Linked DNA regions of Homo sapiens: all the other regions are linked to region 2. The links are contacts of gene promoters, found by promoter capture Hi-C in human tissues and cell types (Jung and others, 2019). All regions are on one chromosome and are shown on one strand. The core of a region is centred on a gene start or on the middle of the fragment in contact, and the rest is flanking DNA. Distances in the headings are between cores, read along the strand shown.

What was found. The method cuts DNA at HindIII sites, captures the fragments that hold promoters and counts their contacts. A contact is called where the count stands out against the background at its distance.
Region 1: a contact is called between a fragment that was not itself captured here and the fragment with the promoter of SLC25A1 in region 2, in 1 of the 25 tissues and cell types used here (spleen).
Region 3: a contact is called between a fragment that was not itself captured here and the fragment with the promoter of SLC25A1 in region 2, in 1 of the 25 tissues and cell types used here (dorsolateral prefrontal cortex).
Region 4: a contact is called between a fragment that was not itself captured here and the fragment with the promoter of SLC25A1 in region 2, in 2 of the 25 tissues and cell types used here (dorsolateral prefrontal cortex and stomach).
Region 5: the fragment with the promoter of GNB1L here is called in contact with the fragment with the promoter of SLC25A1 in region 2 in 2 of the 25 tissues and cell types used here (dorsolateral prefrontal cortex and lymphoblastoid cells).

What each region holds. Positions count from the first base shown.
Region 1 is chr22:19,936,164-19,938,863 of GRCh38, forward strand. All of the region lies in intron 1 of TXNRD2 (thioredoxin reductase 2), which reads right to left. LOC124905081 (endogenous retrovirus group K member 24 Gag polyprotein-like) reads left to right here. Exons shown (of 2, transcript XM_047441689.1): 2 at 1-1,826. The coding sequence starts at 698. The coding sequence ends at 1,663. Among named protein-coding and RNA genes, the nearest start is that of COMT, 4.3 kb to the right of the region's middle. The HindIII fragment of the contact is 4,369 bases long and covers 1-2,700 here.
Region 2 is chr22:19,177,423-19,180,122 of GRCh38, forward strand. It overlaps SLC25A1 (solute carrier family 25 member 1), which reads right to left and starts at 1,314. Exons shown (of 9, transcript NM_005984.5): 1 at 1,158-1,314; 2 at 711-818; 3 at 520-619; 4 at 305-443. The coding sequence starts at 1,251. It overlaps CLTCL1 (clathrin heavy chain like 1), which reads right to left. Exons shown (of 33, transcript NM_007098.4): 33 at 2,051-2,547. RefSeq lists silencers at 531-1,610, 1,811-1,910 and an enhancer at 612-1,359. The HindIII fragment of the contact is 9,906 bases long and covers 1-2,700 here.
Region 3 is chr22:19,953,019-19,955,718 of GRCh38, forward strand. The region is part of intron 1 of COMT (catechol-O-methyltransferase); the gene reads left to right. Among named protein-coding and RNA genes, the nearest start is that of MIR4761, 9.4 kb to the right of the region's middle. RefSeq lists enhancers at 246-869, 870-1,491, 1,756-2,407. The HindIII fragment of the contact is 3,711 bases long and covers 1-2,700 here.
Region 4 is chr22:19,698,753-19,701,452 of GRCh38, forward strand. No RefSeq gene overlaps it. Among named protein-coding and RNA genes, the nearest start is that of SEPTIN5, 14 kb to the right of the region's middle. The HindIII fragment of the contact is 4,442 bases long and covers 1-2,700 here.
Region 5 is chr22:19,853,457-19,856,156 of GRCh38, forward strand. GNB1L (G protein subunit beta 1 like) reads right to left here and starts at 1,418. Exons shown (of 8, transcript NM_053004.3): 1 at 1,364-1,418; 2 at 987-1,083. RTL10 (retrotransposon Gag like 10) reads right to left here and starts at 1,418. Exons shown (of 3, transcript NM_024627.6): 1 at 1,204-1,418; 2 at 987-1,083. It overlaps LOC124905080 (a long non-coding RNA gene), which reads left to right and starts at 1,516. Exons shown (of 2, transcript XR_007068005.1): 1 at 1,516-2,256. RefSeq lists enhancers at 1-526, 1,949-2,428. The HindIII fragment of the contact is 26,560 bases long and covers 1-2,700 here.

The DNA.
Region 1 (2,700 bases), core at 145-2,644, 760 kb after region 2:
GTGATTGGGCCTTGGTACGTGCCATCCTAATGACATACCAATCCCGTGACACCCTGCAGTTACCACAGTTTTCTGAATCTGGCCACCCTCTACCTCTTCCTCAGCTTTCCTCTCCCACTCGGCCTTCATTATCTGCTCAGCCCCTCCCTTTGCCTACTCCTCCCCCACCTGACGATACTGAGGATTCAATATCTAACTCCAGTGACTTTGGCTTAACATCACCCCCTGATGATCTTATTTCTTTTCACGAAGAGCCGACACTTGTAGCTCCTGCGGCCCCAACTCAGACAGCCCAGGACCATATCTATGCTAACTCTTCCCTCTCCAAACCTTTACAGTCTTTGCCTCCGGAGCCATCCAAACTACAATTTACCTGTAATTCTGCAGGCCCTCCCCCATCCACCACAGCCCCTCACCCTCCTATCATTTTGGTCCCTCAACCGGTCACTTTGCCATCCACTCAACCTGCTTCTCTGTACCCTTCTTCATGCAGGGACACCCCTGCCACTCTGGTTGTGCAGGACTGGGCCAGTAATCACCAGTATGCTTCTGCCTCTTCTGCTCCCCCAATGCCCCTTTCTCACACTCTTATACCAGTCCGACCCCGTCAATCTCAGTTTCTCTTATCTATACATACTTTTCCTGTCACTTCTATGCCGACTCTATCTCATGTGCCTGCTCTTGAAACTTTCATGCAATGCTTATTACGCCAAAACAAACAAGTAGATTAGAGGCGTGGGCTTATTCGGTCATGCTGGAACCTCCTAATGCTCAAGGGGTACAAGTGTGTCGATATACGCCGCTCAATCTTACCTTTTTAAAAGAATTCAAGGATGCTTGTACTCAGTATGTTCCTACTTCTCCATATGTTAAAACGGTATTACAGACTCTTTGTACCGAGGTCATTTTGCTTCCTATAGACTGCGACCTTTTGGCAAAAGCTGTTCTAACTCCATCTCAGCATTTACAATTCCATACCTGGTGGTCAGAGGAGGCCCGCCTGCAGGCTCAGCTAAATCGGGCTGATGGCATTCCAATTACTCAGGCTCAGCTCACAGGCTCCGATAATTACTCTGATACTACTGCTCATTTAGGCTTTGATGCTCTCACCACGGAACAAGTAACAAAGGTGTGTATGAGAGCTTGGGATAAATTACGCACCCCAGGCCAAGCTTCTGTTTCTTTTACTATTGTTAAACAGGGTCACAATGAATTATATCTTGATTTTTTAGCTAAATTACAAGATGCTGTTGAAAAATCTGTCTCTGATGAGCACACTCAAGGTATTCTTCTTCATATGTTAGCTTTTCAAAATGCGAACCATGAGTGTAAAATGGCCGTGCATTCCATCCTACGTCAAAATTTACCTGATCATGAGGTGTTGCCTGCATATATTAAAGCTTGTGAAGGCGTTGGATCGGAGACCCACAGAGCTATTCTGTGGGCACCGGCCATGAAGCACGGCAACCAAACTGGCTCGACTGATTCTTTTCTTGGAGCCTGCTATAATTGTGGCCAACTTGGTCATACCCAAAAAAACTACACTGTTAAAAACTTAAAAGCGGCCAAGCCGGCTCAACAAACACGGCCAAATGCTCCTGCTACTGTTTGCCTGCGTTGTCGTAAGGGTAAACATTGGGCAAGTACTTGCCACTCAGTCTGATATAGATGAAAATCCCTTGCCACAGAACCAGGGAAACAGGAAGCAAGGCCAGTCCCAGGCCCCAATATCAAATGGGACACCTCGGACTCAGACCAATGTTGTGTTTTTGCGTCAAGCAGTCCCAACGCAGCCCCCAGCACAAACAAATTTACCTACAGCCAATCCAGATGGGTCCCAGCCTCTTCTTCTGTCTCAGTACAATGCTTGTCTACCTCCACAGTAGGCAGCAGGGCGGTCGATCTCTGTAGTACCATTCCTCTAAATTTACTACCTAATTCTTTGCCTTTAATTGTCCCCATGGGGGTCACTGGCCCTTTACCTCAAGGTTCGGTGGGCCTGGTGTTAGGCAGGGCATCCACCTCATGATACTAAAGGTATCATAGTTCATACTAGTCTCATTAATTCTGATTCCTCTGATGAGATTAAACTTATGTAAACTTATGGTGTCTGCCAAAGTTCCTGTTTCCATTCCGGCCAGTGAGTCAATTGCTCAATTACTTTTACTACCTAACATTGTTTTAAACAAAGGAGATAAGACATGGGGCCCTGGGATGGGCTCCAGCGGTGAAAAAGCCGCTTATTGGATTAATGTAATTTCTAAACAATGGCCTACCTGCACCATACACATTCAAGGAAAAAAGGTTGAGGGCCTAGTTGATACTGGGGCTGATGTTTCTATTATTTCCTCTAATTTATGGCCTTCCTCCTGGCTTAAACATCCCACTAACATGAAACTAGAAGGTGTTAGAAAAGCTGAAGAAGTTCACCAGAGCACATTTATCTTGGCTTGCACTGGCCCTGATGGTCAAAAGGGAACAATTCAGCCTTATATCATGCCCATCCCCATTAATCTTCGGGGCAGAGATTTGCTGGCACAAATTGGGGCTGAAATTAATATTCCACATAACTTTTACAGTGCTCCCAGTCAACATATAATGGAAAACATGGGGTTTGTTTCCAGACTCGGTCTCGGTCCAAAACGTGAAAAAATTACTAAACCTCTTCAAGTTACTGTAAAAGAAGACAAGGCTGGTTTA
Region 2 (2,700 bases), core at 64-2,563:
CAGCCTCTCCCTTTATGTTTGCTGCTCTTTTCCAGTTTTGGCAGTGAAGGTGTCATTTTGTTTTCTGCTTTATAAAAGTATTTTTTAAAGACTTTAAGGCTGCCTTTAGCATAGACTCAGCCTCCACGGGTGGCCCTTCGTGGCAGGCGTCCTGCCCCAGGGCCCCGCGGTCACCCCGCCGGCCTTCCCTGGCGTCCAGGAGACCCTCCCCAGCTTGCCGGTTGCCCCGGGAGCACCGGGCCAGCGGGGCCGCCCGTCTCCGTACTCCCTGCGTGTCCGGGGTCCTCGCCAGGACCTTCCCCACCTTGATGGTCTCCATGGGGCACACGACCACCACGGCCTCGGCCACGCCAGCGCCCAGGCCGCACAGCAGCCCACGCGTGCTGTCCAGCCGTCCCTGGGCATCCCGCATGTGGTTGCTGAGGAACTCGAACATTCCAAACCTGGAGGCGGGAGGCGGGTGAGAGGGGCTGCCGCGGCCGAGCCCCCCTCCCGCAGCAGCCACCGGCCGGGCCTCACCTGACGGCCGCCTTGGGGATGGAACCGTAGAGCAGGGAGCTAAGGCCGCGGTACAGGCCCAGGACGCCATGGCTGCGAACCGTCTGCCGCACGCAGTCCCCTGGGGGAGGGGGCGGTCAGGACCCCACGGCCCTCGGTGCCGCCGCCCTGGGTACCCGCCCCCCGCGGCGCCGCGGCCTCCCCCTCCTCACCGATGCCCCGGTACCGCGGCGGGTGCGAGCGCTCGTCCAGCTGCAGCTGCGTCTTCACGTACTCGGTGGGGAAGGTGATGCAGATCTCGATGCCACCCGCCAGGCCGCCTGCAGGGACCGGGAACCCGCTCCTGAGACTCCCGCCCGGCCGCTGGCGCTCGGGCCCCTCCCCCGTCCCGGACTTCGGTCGGCGCGGCCGCCGCGCCAGTGCCGCGGGGAACATAGGCTGGGGCCCCACGCCCCCATGCCCTCACCCCGTTGTCCCGGCGAGGCGCAGGGGGTGACAGACGGGAGGCGGGCGAGTCCCAGCGCGCCGGGTGGGGACCAGGACCGCGCCTCCACGACTCCCCAGCCCACGGCCCAACCCGGAAGTGGGGCGGGGCCTCAGCGTCCCGGGCCCACCCAGAAGCGCGGCGGGAGAGGGGTCCGCGTCCCGGAGGGGCCCACCTGCCAGGATCGCCTTCCCCGGGTGCGTCAGCTTGGCCTTCCCGGACGCGGGCGCGGCGGCCGCCAGAGCGCGCGGGGCGCGGGGCGCGGGCATGGCGGGCGGGAGGCGGGGCGCCCTGTGGCGGCTTCGGGTCCGAGACTCCAGAACTCCGCGCTCGGTCCGCGGTGGCGGCGGCGGCCGGTTATGGTCCCAGGGGCGGGGCGGCCGCGTCAGCTCCAGGTCCCGCCCCGCGTGGTCCGAGCCAGGCCCCGCCCCCAGCCCGCCCCGTGCGGGCCGGGAAACTGAGGCCTGGGCGGGGCGCGCCGAGGCAGGCGTAGGGGCGGGGCCAAAGCGCAGCCAATGGCCGAGGCCGAGTCCCTGGGCGACCGCGAGCGGCGGGACGGGGGCGGGGCTGCGGGAGGCGGAGCCGTGGCCCAGCTCCGAGCAGTGGGTCAAGGTGCACTGTGTGCCGCGCCGCGGGATAGCGGGCCTCGGGTCTGCGCGACTGTCGAGAGCGGCGGGATCCCCAGGGATCCCGGAGGCCAGGGGCACACCCTCCCCGAAAACACGTGGGGCTAGCCCAGTCCCAGAGGAACTCTAACGTTTCAAACCTGGAGGCGGGAGGCGGGAGGCCGGTGAGAAGGGGCTACGCCGCCGGGCCCCCCTCCCGCAGCAGCCACGGGCCGGGCCTCACCTGCCGGTTCCCACCCACACCTTTCCCGGTTGTAGTTTCTGCGCTCAGCGAACAAGGTCAGGAAAGACCACAAATGCAAGCGGCTGTATTCTCCTAGGCAGCTTGTCTGGGCAACGGAGGTCCCACACCCCAAAGAGGACCCAGCAAATCTTTAATGGACTGCGGGGCCTAGGAAACTGGCCCGTCCCTCCTACCCATACCAGCACCAAGCAGAGCACCTTTGCCTGGATAAACCGACTTTAATATTTATGATTGCCAAGAGGCTGAGAGTCCTTTTATGAGGTCCGGTACCTCCAAACAAGACGTGTTCATGTAGTCTTCAAACTGGCCTGGAGGGGGCAGCTCCAGCCAGTCGGAGGCGCCCAGGAGGAAGGCCTGGCTCCAGCAGGAGGGCCCACAGTCCAGTCTCTGTTGTCGGCTAAAGCTGGTCTTGCGCCGTCAGCCTCTACCCTGGCCTCCCCAGGCTCTGGGATGGCTCAGAGGTTGCCGTCATTGGGTTTCAGCAAAAATAAATATTGTCCAGGTGTCCCTGCCTCCCATTGCGTCCCCTGTGCTGCTGGAGTGACATGCTCCTTGGAGAAGTTAGTAACTCTGCAGGTAGGGTGGGTGGTGACAACGCCCACTACACGCGGAAGTTGTACATTGGAGGCTGGCGAAGTTGGGAGCAGAGGCATATCCATAGGGGAAGCTGGCAGGGGCTGGGCCCACGGCAGGGCCTGCAGAGGGGGAAGCCCACAATGAGCAGAGCTCTTCCTGCCCATGGGGGTCCTCTCCTGGCTGCCCCTGAGTAGCCCGGGGCCCAGGGAGCAGGGTCTATAGGACCAGCCCTTACCACCCAGACGCTGAGGCCCCAAGAGAGCAGGCATCCA
Region 3 (2,700 bases), core at 33-2,532, 780 kb after region 2:
AGCAGCTTTGTTAGTGTTTGTTCAAGGCCTGATAGGCCAAGGTGAGGCTCAGCCGAGAAACGTGCTCAGAGGAGCCTGGCCGGAGTGTGATGGGGGAGTCTTTGTCCAGGCTGCTGCCACGGTGGGCCTCAGGACTCATGGCCTGGGCGCTGGGGGTGGGGCTGCCACTCAGCCTTGAGGAGAGCAATGAGGAGGTCAGATTCCACTCACATCCAGTGCGGTCTGGATGCAGGCCTGGCCCAGAGCCTGGTCCAGATGCTGGGGCTTTGTTTTTTTGTTGTTGTTTTTTTGAGACAGAGTCTCGCTCTGTTGCCCAGGCTGGAGTGCAGTGGCACTATCTCCACTCACTGCAACAACCTCCACCTCCACGGTTCAAGCGATTCTCCTGCCTCAGCCTCCCGAGTAGCTGGGACTACAGGCACCCGCCACCATGCCCGGCTCATTTTTTGCATTTTTAGTGGAAACAGAGTTTCACCATGTTGGCCAGGATGGTCTCCAACTCCAGACCTTGTGATCTGCCTGCCTCAGCCTCCCAAAGTGCTGGGATTACAGGCGTGAGCCACTGCACCCAGCCGGCTTTGTTTACAGTACTCAGCAGCTGCCAAAATAGTCCCCATTCCCAGGCAGGGCAGGCTCCCGGGCTCAGTCCAGCGGGGCAGATGGCCAGCCTGCACGTCACCCCACTAGGCATGTCCAGGCCCTTTCTGCCCCTCCCTAAAGGCACCCCTGTCCTTTCTGTCCCCTCCACACTGAGCCAAGCCAGCCTCCACTCTTGCCCCAGGCCTGCCCTCTGCTGGGAGCCGGGACACTGAGCTCCTGCCACATGAGCAGGTTGACCTGCAGGGGGCCTCCAAGCAGGTGCCAAGGCAGAATCGGATGTGACCAGGAGAACACCCTTGAAGGATAAAGCGAATGTGCGACCACCATGCAGGTCTGGCCCATGGAAGGGAGGGGAGGGGGCCCCGACGGGGCCACAGTAAAGGAGTGGAGGGGCCCCACAGGCAGGGATGGCCCAGCTGGCCCCCTGGGGCTGTGAATCTGCAGGTGCAGTGCAGCCTCTTGCCTCTCTCAGCCCAGCCCTTGCATCTGCCTCTTGGTGTGTCTGTGAAGACAAAGTCACCGTGGTCCCTGCAGCACCTGGCTTGAAGCAGGTGTGCAGTCCGTGTGAAAGCCTTCCCTTTAGCTATTAGGTATTGAGTCAAAAAAAAAAAAAGCCTTCCCCTGAGCCTGGGGGCCTGGCCCCACTGAGGATACCAGGCGGGGGAGGCTACAGGAGGCTGCCCTCTGCCTGGCCATCTGACCTTCCATTCTGACCCCTTCCCTTCCACACCAGCCCCTTTCCCTATGTAGGGTGCAGTCTTTGTTGCAACTGCTCACCTCTGCCATGGTCGGATGAGAGCAGCCACGGACAATGTCTGTGCAATTGTGCGTTTTTTGTTTTGTTTTGTTTTGAGATGGAGTCCCACTCTTGTTGCCCAGGCTGGAGTGTAATGGCACCATCTCGGCTCACTGCAACCTCCACCTCCCGAGTTCTAGCGATTCTCCTGCCTCAGCCTCCCAAGTAGCTGGGATTACAGGCATGCATCACCATGTCTGGCTAATTGTGTATTTTTAATAGAGACTGGGGTTTCACCATGTTGGTCAGGCTGTTCTTGAACTCCTGACCTCAGGTGATCCACCCGCCTCAGCCTCCCAAAATGCTGGGATTACAGACGTGAGCCACCGTGCCTGGTTGATTGTGCGTTCTGATAAAGCTTCATTTACAGAAATAGCAGGTAGGCCCCTCGCAGGGTGCCCAGAGCAGGTGCACTGTCTCACCTCTTCTCAGGTGTCACCGGGGTGAGAGGCTAGTCCTCTGCCTCCTCCTTCCTCTCTGCAGGTTGGAGAAATGACAGCTTCTTGTACTGGGGGTTATGAGACAGTGGCAGGAGGGGGACACTCCCAGAGTGCTGCCAGAAAGAGGCGAGGCCCCATCTGGATTTGATGGCATTTTTATTGTGGTGTTGTTTTAGAGACAGTGTCTGTCGCCCAGGATGGACGACATGGTGCAATCATGGCTCACTCCAGCCTCCAACTCCTGGGCCCAAGCAATCCTCCCACTTCAGCCTCCTGAGTAGCTGCAGCTATAGGCACACCACCATGCCTGGCTCAATGGGTATTTTGTGGCCATTAAACTTCTGGTCATTCCTTTAGATTCCCAGAGGCTGGATGGAGGTGAGTGGCCAGCCCCTGGGTCCAGAGATGAGCGCGGGGCCTGGCTGCAGCCTGTGGGGTCTCCCAGGCTGGCCTCCAGGTGTCCTCTCAGCCTGTCCACAGGCGCTGCCCAAGCGTGTGGCCTACCTGGTGCTGCCTGGCCTGTCTCTACGCACCTGTACTGGCTCTCCCTGGATTACTGGATCGCAGTCGAATCCCCTGCCAGAATCCTGGTCCCCCTTTATCACACCGGATCAGCCCCAAAGGGCAGGGCTTCTTGCAGCAGTTCCAGCCTTTGCTGGGGGTTTCCAGCCCTGTTGAGCAAGCCCCAGGTAGGGCCCTCTGCAGCCCCCGTGGGGGACCTGTGTGCCGAGCAGAGCTGCCCCGTGTGTAAACGCTTAGAACTGGCCTCCTTCCTGCCATCTGTGTCCTGTTTGTCATCACGCCTGTGGCTCTATGCTTGTCTCCCCGACTGGGCCACCAGCCCTGTGAGGGCAGGATGAGGCA
Region 4 (2,700 bases), core at 53-2,552, 520 kb after region 2:
CATATAAATTTTAGAATAGTCTTATGACTATTTGAATATCCACTAAAAAACCTGGCTTATATTTTTATATTTTGATGTATAGGAATGTATTTGGGCATAACTGACATCTTTACAATACTGAGTCTTCTAATCCATGAATATGGTGTATCTCTTTCTTTATTTAGATATTCTTTGGTTTATTTCATCCACATTTTGTTGCTTTCAGCATAAAAATCCTACCCATGTTTTGTTAGATTTAACACCTGAGCACTTTACTTTTTGAGAGATTATAAATGATACTGCTTTTTTCTTTTTTTCTTTTTTTCTTTTTTTTTGAGATGGAGTCTCTATCTGTCACCCAGGCTGGAGTGCAGTGGTGTGATGTCGGCTCACTGCAAGCTCCATCTCCTGGGTTCATACCATTCTCCTGCCTCAGCCTCCCAAGTATCTGGGACTACAGGTGCCCACCACCATGCCTGGCTAATTTTTTAAATATTTTTAGTAGAGACGGTGTTTCACCATGTTAGCCAGGATGGTCTTGATCTCCTGACCTCGTGATCCGCCCACCTTGGCCTCCCAAAGTGCTGGGATTACAGGCATGAGCCACTGCACCCAGCCCAATGATACTACATTTTTAAAGAAATACAATTGATTTTTAAAATTTTTTTATTTTTATTTTTTGTAGAGAAAAGATCTCGTTATGTTGACCAAGCTGGTCTCAATGTCCCGGCCTCAAATGACCCTCCTGCCTGAGCCTCCCAAAGGTCTGGGATTACAGGCATGAGGCATCGAGCCACAGTTGGTTTTTGTATGTCAATCTTATATTCTTCAACTTGCTCAAGTGAGAAGAAACAATCTGCCTGATCTCAAGGCCTATTCCATAATTATGGTATTTAAAACTATATGGGATTAGCAGAAGGGTGGACACATAGATCAGTGAAACAGTAGAGAACTCAGAAATAGATCCATATAAACATGCCCTAGTGATGTTTTAAAAATAAATTTTATTGTGTATATTTGAGGTTTACAACATGATAGGTTTTTTTGGTTTGGGGTTTTTGGGGTTTTTTTTTGAAACAGGGTCTCACTCTGTTGTCCAGGCTGGAGTGCAGTGGTGCAATCACAGCTCACTGTAGCCTCGACCTTCCAGGCTCAAGTGATCCTCTCCCTCAGCCTCCCAGACAGTTGGGGCTACAGGTGTGCACCACCACGCCCAGCTAATTTTTCATATATATATATATATATATATATATTTTTTTTTTTTTTTTTTTTTTTTGTAGAGATGGGATTTCACCATGTCACCCAGGCTGGTCTTGAACTTCTGGGCTCAAGCAATTCTCCCACCTCAGCCTCCTAAAGTGCTGGGAGAACGGGCGTGTCCCTAGTGATTTTTGACAGAAGTTCAAAAGCAACTCAATGAAGAAAGGATACAACAAATGGTGCTGAAGCAACCGGACATATATAGATGTGTTAGGCCATTCTTGTATTGCTATAAAGGAATATCTGAGACTGGGCAATATATAAAGGAATGAGGTTTAATTGGCTCACAGTTCTGCAGGCTTCACAGAAAGCATGGTGGTGGCATCTGTTCAGCTTCTTGGGAGGCCTCAGGAAGCTTTCAACCATGGCTGACGGTGAAGGGGGTCAGGCATTTCACGTGGCAGAGCAGGAGCAAGAGCTAGGGGAGGTGCCAACACTTCTAAATGAGTAGATCTCATGGGAACTCACTCGCAATCACAAGAACACCACCAAGGGGATGGTGGTAAACCAATCATGAGAAATCCACCCCCATGATCCAACCATCACCTCAAACACTGGGGATTACATTTCAACATGAGATTTTGTGGGGACACAGAGCCAAACCATATCAATAGGCAAACAAAAACAAAACCAGAAACCTCAATCTCACATCTTATTTAAAAATCGACTCAAAATAGAATGACAGGCCGGGCACAGTGGCTCATGCCTGTAATCCCAGCACTTTGGAAGGCCGAGGTGGGCCAATCACCTGAGGTCAGGAGTTCGAGACCAGCCTGGGCAACATGGCGAAACCCCGTCTCTACTAAAAATACAAAAAGTAGCTGAGAGTGGTGGTGGGTGCCTGGCTGAGGCAGGAGAATCTCTGGAACCCAGGAGGCAGAAGTTGCAGTGAGCCGAGGTCGTGCCACCGCACTCCAGGCTGGGTGACAGAGCAAGACTCAAGAAAGAAAGAAAGAAAGAGAGAGAGAGAGGAAGGAAGGAAGGAAGGAAAGAAGGAAGGAAGGAAGGAAAAAGAAGGAAAGAAGGAAGGAAGGAGAAAAGAAAAGAAAAGAAAAGAGATGCCATCTCAAAAAAAAAAAAGGAATAATAAACTGAAGTTTAGAATGTAAAACTATAAAACTTTCAGGGAAAAAAATACAGGAGAATAATCTCTAGGATCTAGAGCTAGGGAATGAGTTATTAGACTTGACTCGAAAAGCAGGAGCCATAAAAAGAAAAATTGATAAACTGGACTCCATTAAAATTAAAACTTTTGCTCTGTGAAAATTTCTCTGTTAAAAGTGGTTCTGTTACAAGAATGAAAAATCAAGCTACAGACTAGGAGAAAACAGTTGCAAAAGATATATCCAAGAAAGGGCTAGTACTAGAATATATAAAGAACTCAGGCTGGGCGCAGTGGCGCATGCCTGTAATCCCACCAATTTGGGAGGCCAAGGCAGGCAGATTACTTGAGGCCAGGAG
Region 5 (2,700 bases), core at 168-2,667, 680 kb after region 2:
AGTCTCTCTGCAAACGGAGGCCCACTCACGACCTCCAGGAAACTCTCTGCTTCACCCCACACACAAACGCCACCGGCTCACTGGGAGCACAAGGCCTGCACACACCTTCATCCCACATCTCCTATCTGCTGGCCATCCCCCCTCAGGGTGAGTTCCTCCAGGTACCTCCCAGGGTGGCCTGCAGCACTAGAACCTGCCAGGGCCACTGGCCCTACCTCCACCACCCAAACACTCTGGAATCCCTCAGGTCTGACCCCCCTCTGGGGGGGGGGTCTTCACCTGAAAGCCCAGCCCATGACCCTGGCTTCCCACCTTACTGCAGGATTATACTAAGGCCTGGACGTGAGTCGAGTCCAGTCCAGTCCCTCACTGAGCTCTAAAAAAGCAGTGACCCCGATCCAGGGCCCAGCTCCCACCACCAGCCAAGGTTAGGTATCCAGGTTGCCCACAATGACCACACCCCATGCCCGGGAGCCACAGTGTGCTACCCAGATCTCTGCCTTCCCTTCTTCCCAGTCCCCTACCCTGCCCACTCACCTGCGCACCTGTGTCCCCTGCAGTCTGGGAGAAGGCTTCCCTGCACCAGCCAGCCAGGCCTGCTTTGGGCCTGAGCCTTCCTAACCCTGGGCCGCACTCTCACCATTTTGAGAACCTTAGCCCTCCCACGCCTATCAGTCTGTTGGTCCCCCTACTTTTCTCCCCACACTGCCTGGCATAGAAGACTTTCGGCCCTTCTAGACTGGACAGCACTATCCTAAAGGGGCAGGTACCACGGCGCATGTGTGTTTGCCCCCACAAGGCCAAAGGCAGCACCTGGAACGCTGGAGCCGTTCTCTGCTCTGGGGAGACCCAGGAGCCCCAAGAACAAAACCTGCCCAAAGCCTTAAAGCAAGCTGAGTGCAGACGACTGCACCGCCCGCCCCCCAGCAACCGCCATGCAGGAAATACGAGCTCACAAGGCCCACGGCAACAAGAAGCCCACCCACCTGAGGCTACGCGAATCGCCCGCGAAGAGGGTCCTGGGATCCGTAGCCACAGACCGTGGGACGGGCCTCCCTCTGAGGGCGAGAGTCCAGGCGCCACCTAGAAAGTGGAGAACGAGATCGGCCGCCGTGAGGCCAGGCAAGGAGCGGGCGCGGCTTCCCGAGACTGCGAGAACGGCCCAAATGTCTCCAGGTGCCCCCACAAACCCCCGGCGCGGACCGAGAAACTGAGGCCCGCAGACCGAAGGCACTGCGACCCAGGCTGGGGCTCCGAGTGCCCCTCTGCGGATCAGAAGTCGGGAAAAGACGCAGGGGCGCAGCTCCAGGCCCGCGTGCACGGAGTTCAAGCCGGCCGCCCGGGCTCCCGCCTCCACACTGACCCTCTTGCCGGAGTCGGGAACGCCTGCTCCTAGGAGCGCCGCGCAGCGTCCAGAGACCGATTACATCGCGCAGCCACGCCCCCAGCGTGCGCGCGGCCGCCGTGTACGACCCGGCGCATGCTCCCGGCACGCTCCACGCGCTCCTCCCATCCAGGCCGCGCCTGCGCTGTATGCCGTGTGGCCGCTACCTCGCAGGCTCTCCCGGTCCCTGCTGGCGCGGCAGTGCCGCGCGGTGGGTGATGGGAGAGCGCGCCCATTCCCACGCCGCGCCAAGTGCCACGGGATCAGGTGGGGCCGCGTGTACAGGCGCGAGACGGTCGGGCCAAAGCTGCCCCTCATGATCCCCAGCGGACGGTGCCCGGCGGTCCCTCAGATCCGGGAAATCTGCACCCGGCTGTGGCGTAGACCGAGGGGCCGATGCTGCTTCAGCCCGCCGTTACTGCCCTGGCGTCAGCCAGACACTGGGGTGCTGCTGGGCGTCGAGAGGGCTGCTGCGGGGCCGGGCTAAGCCTGGGGGGCTGCAGGTGTCGGGGTGGATGTGGGCATAGCGGGGCTGCTGGGCCTCGTGAGCGCCCTGGAACGGCGTGCCCGCGGAGTGCCTCTCATCACTCATTGCCAGTGCGGGGAACCTTGTTAGGGCCCGGTTCGACGTAGCTGCAGGCTGGGCGCCAGAGGCAGGGGGCAGGCAGTCCGAGAGGACCCTCTACCTGCATACCTGGGGGCTGCAGGCAGGGCCTCTGGGCCTCCTTGTTGTGGATATAATTGTGTGCTTCCCGACTCAGGCCGAGGCTGGACCCGGAGACGACAGCGAGGGCAGGCTACCAAGCCCTCCCCACAGGGCCGTGCCCAGCCCAAGCCTGCCGAGTCAGCACCCAGATCCTGGGACAAGATAGGTGAGGATGAAGTGGTGGTGCTCTTCTCACTTGCACAAGCCGTCCCACGCCACCTCTCCTCGGCTTCACGGTGCCTAGAGAAGAGGTGGGAGAGGGTGCAGGCGCCCCAGCTCAGGATCTGATGCCTGTGGGCCAAGGACCTGGATGCAAGCCAGGAGTCCTTGGGGCCACGGGCAGGCAGCCGGATTCACCGGAAAGTGACGCTTCTCAAGGGGAACACACACGTAACACACCAGCTCCCTTTCTGCCCTGGTCCAGTGACTCCTTTCATGAAAGCTCTCTGAAATGTTATCTGCATTTACACCCAAACTCACTCACTTTGATCCCTGAAACGCGAATCAAAGGTCACATTGTACCTTCCCTGGGTCTGTGGGGCTTTCAGCAGCCTGGGCCAAAAATAATAAAAGTGGCACCGAGCCAGGAAACGCCTCCTTGAAGTGGGAA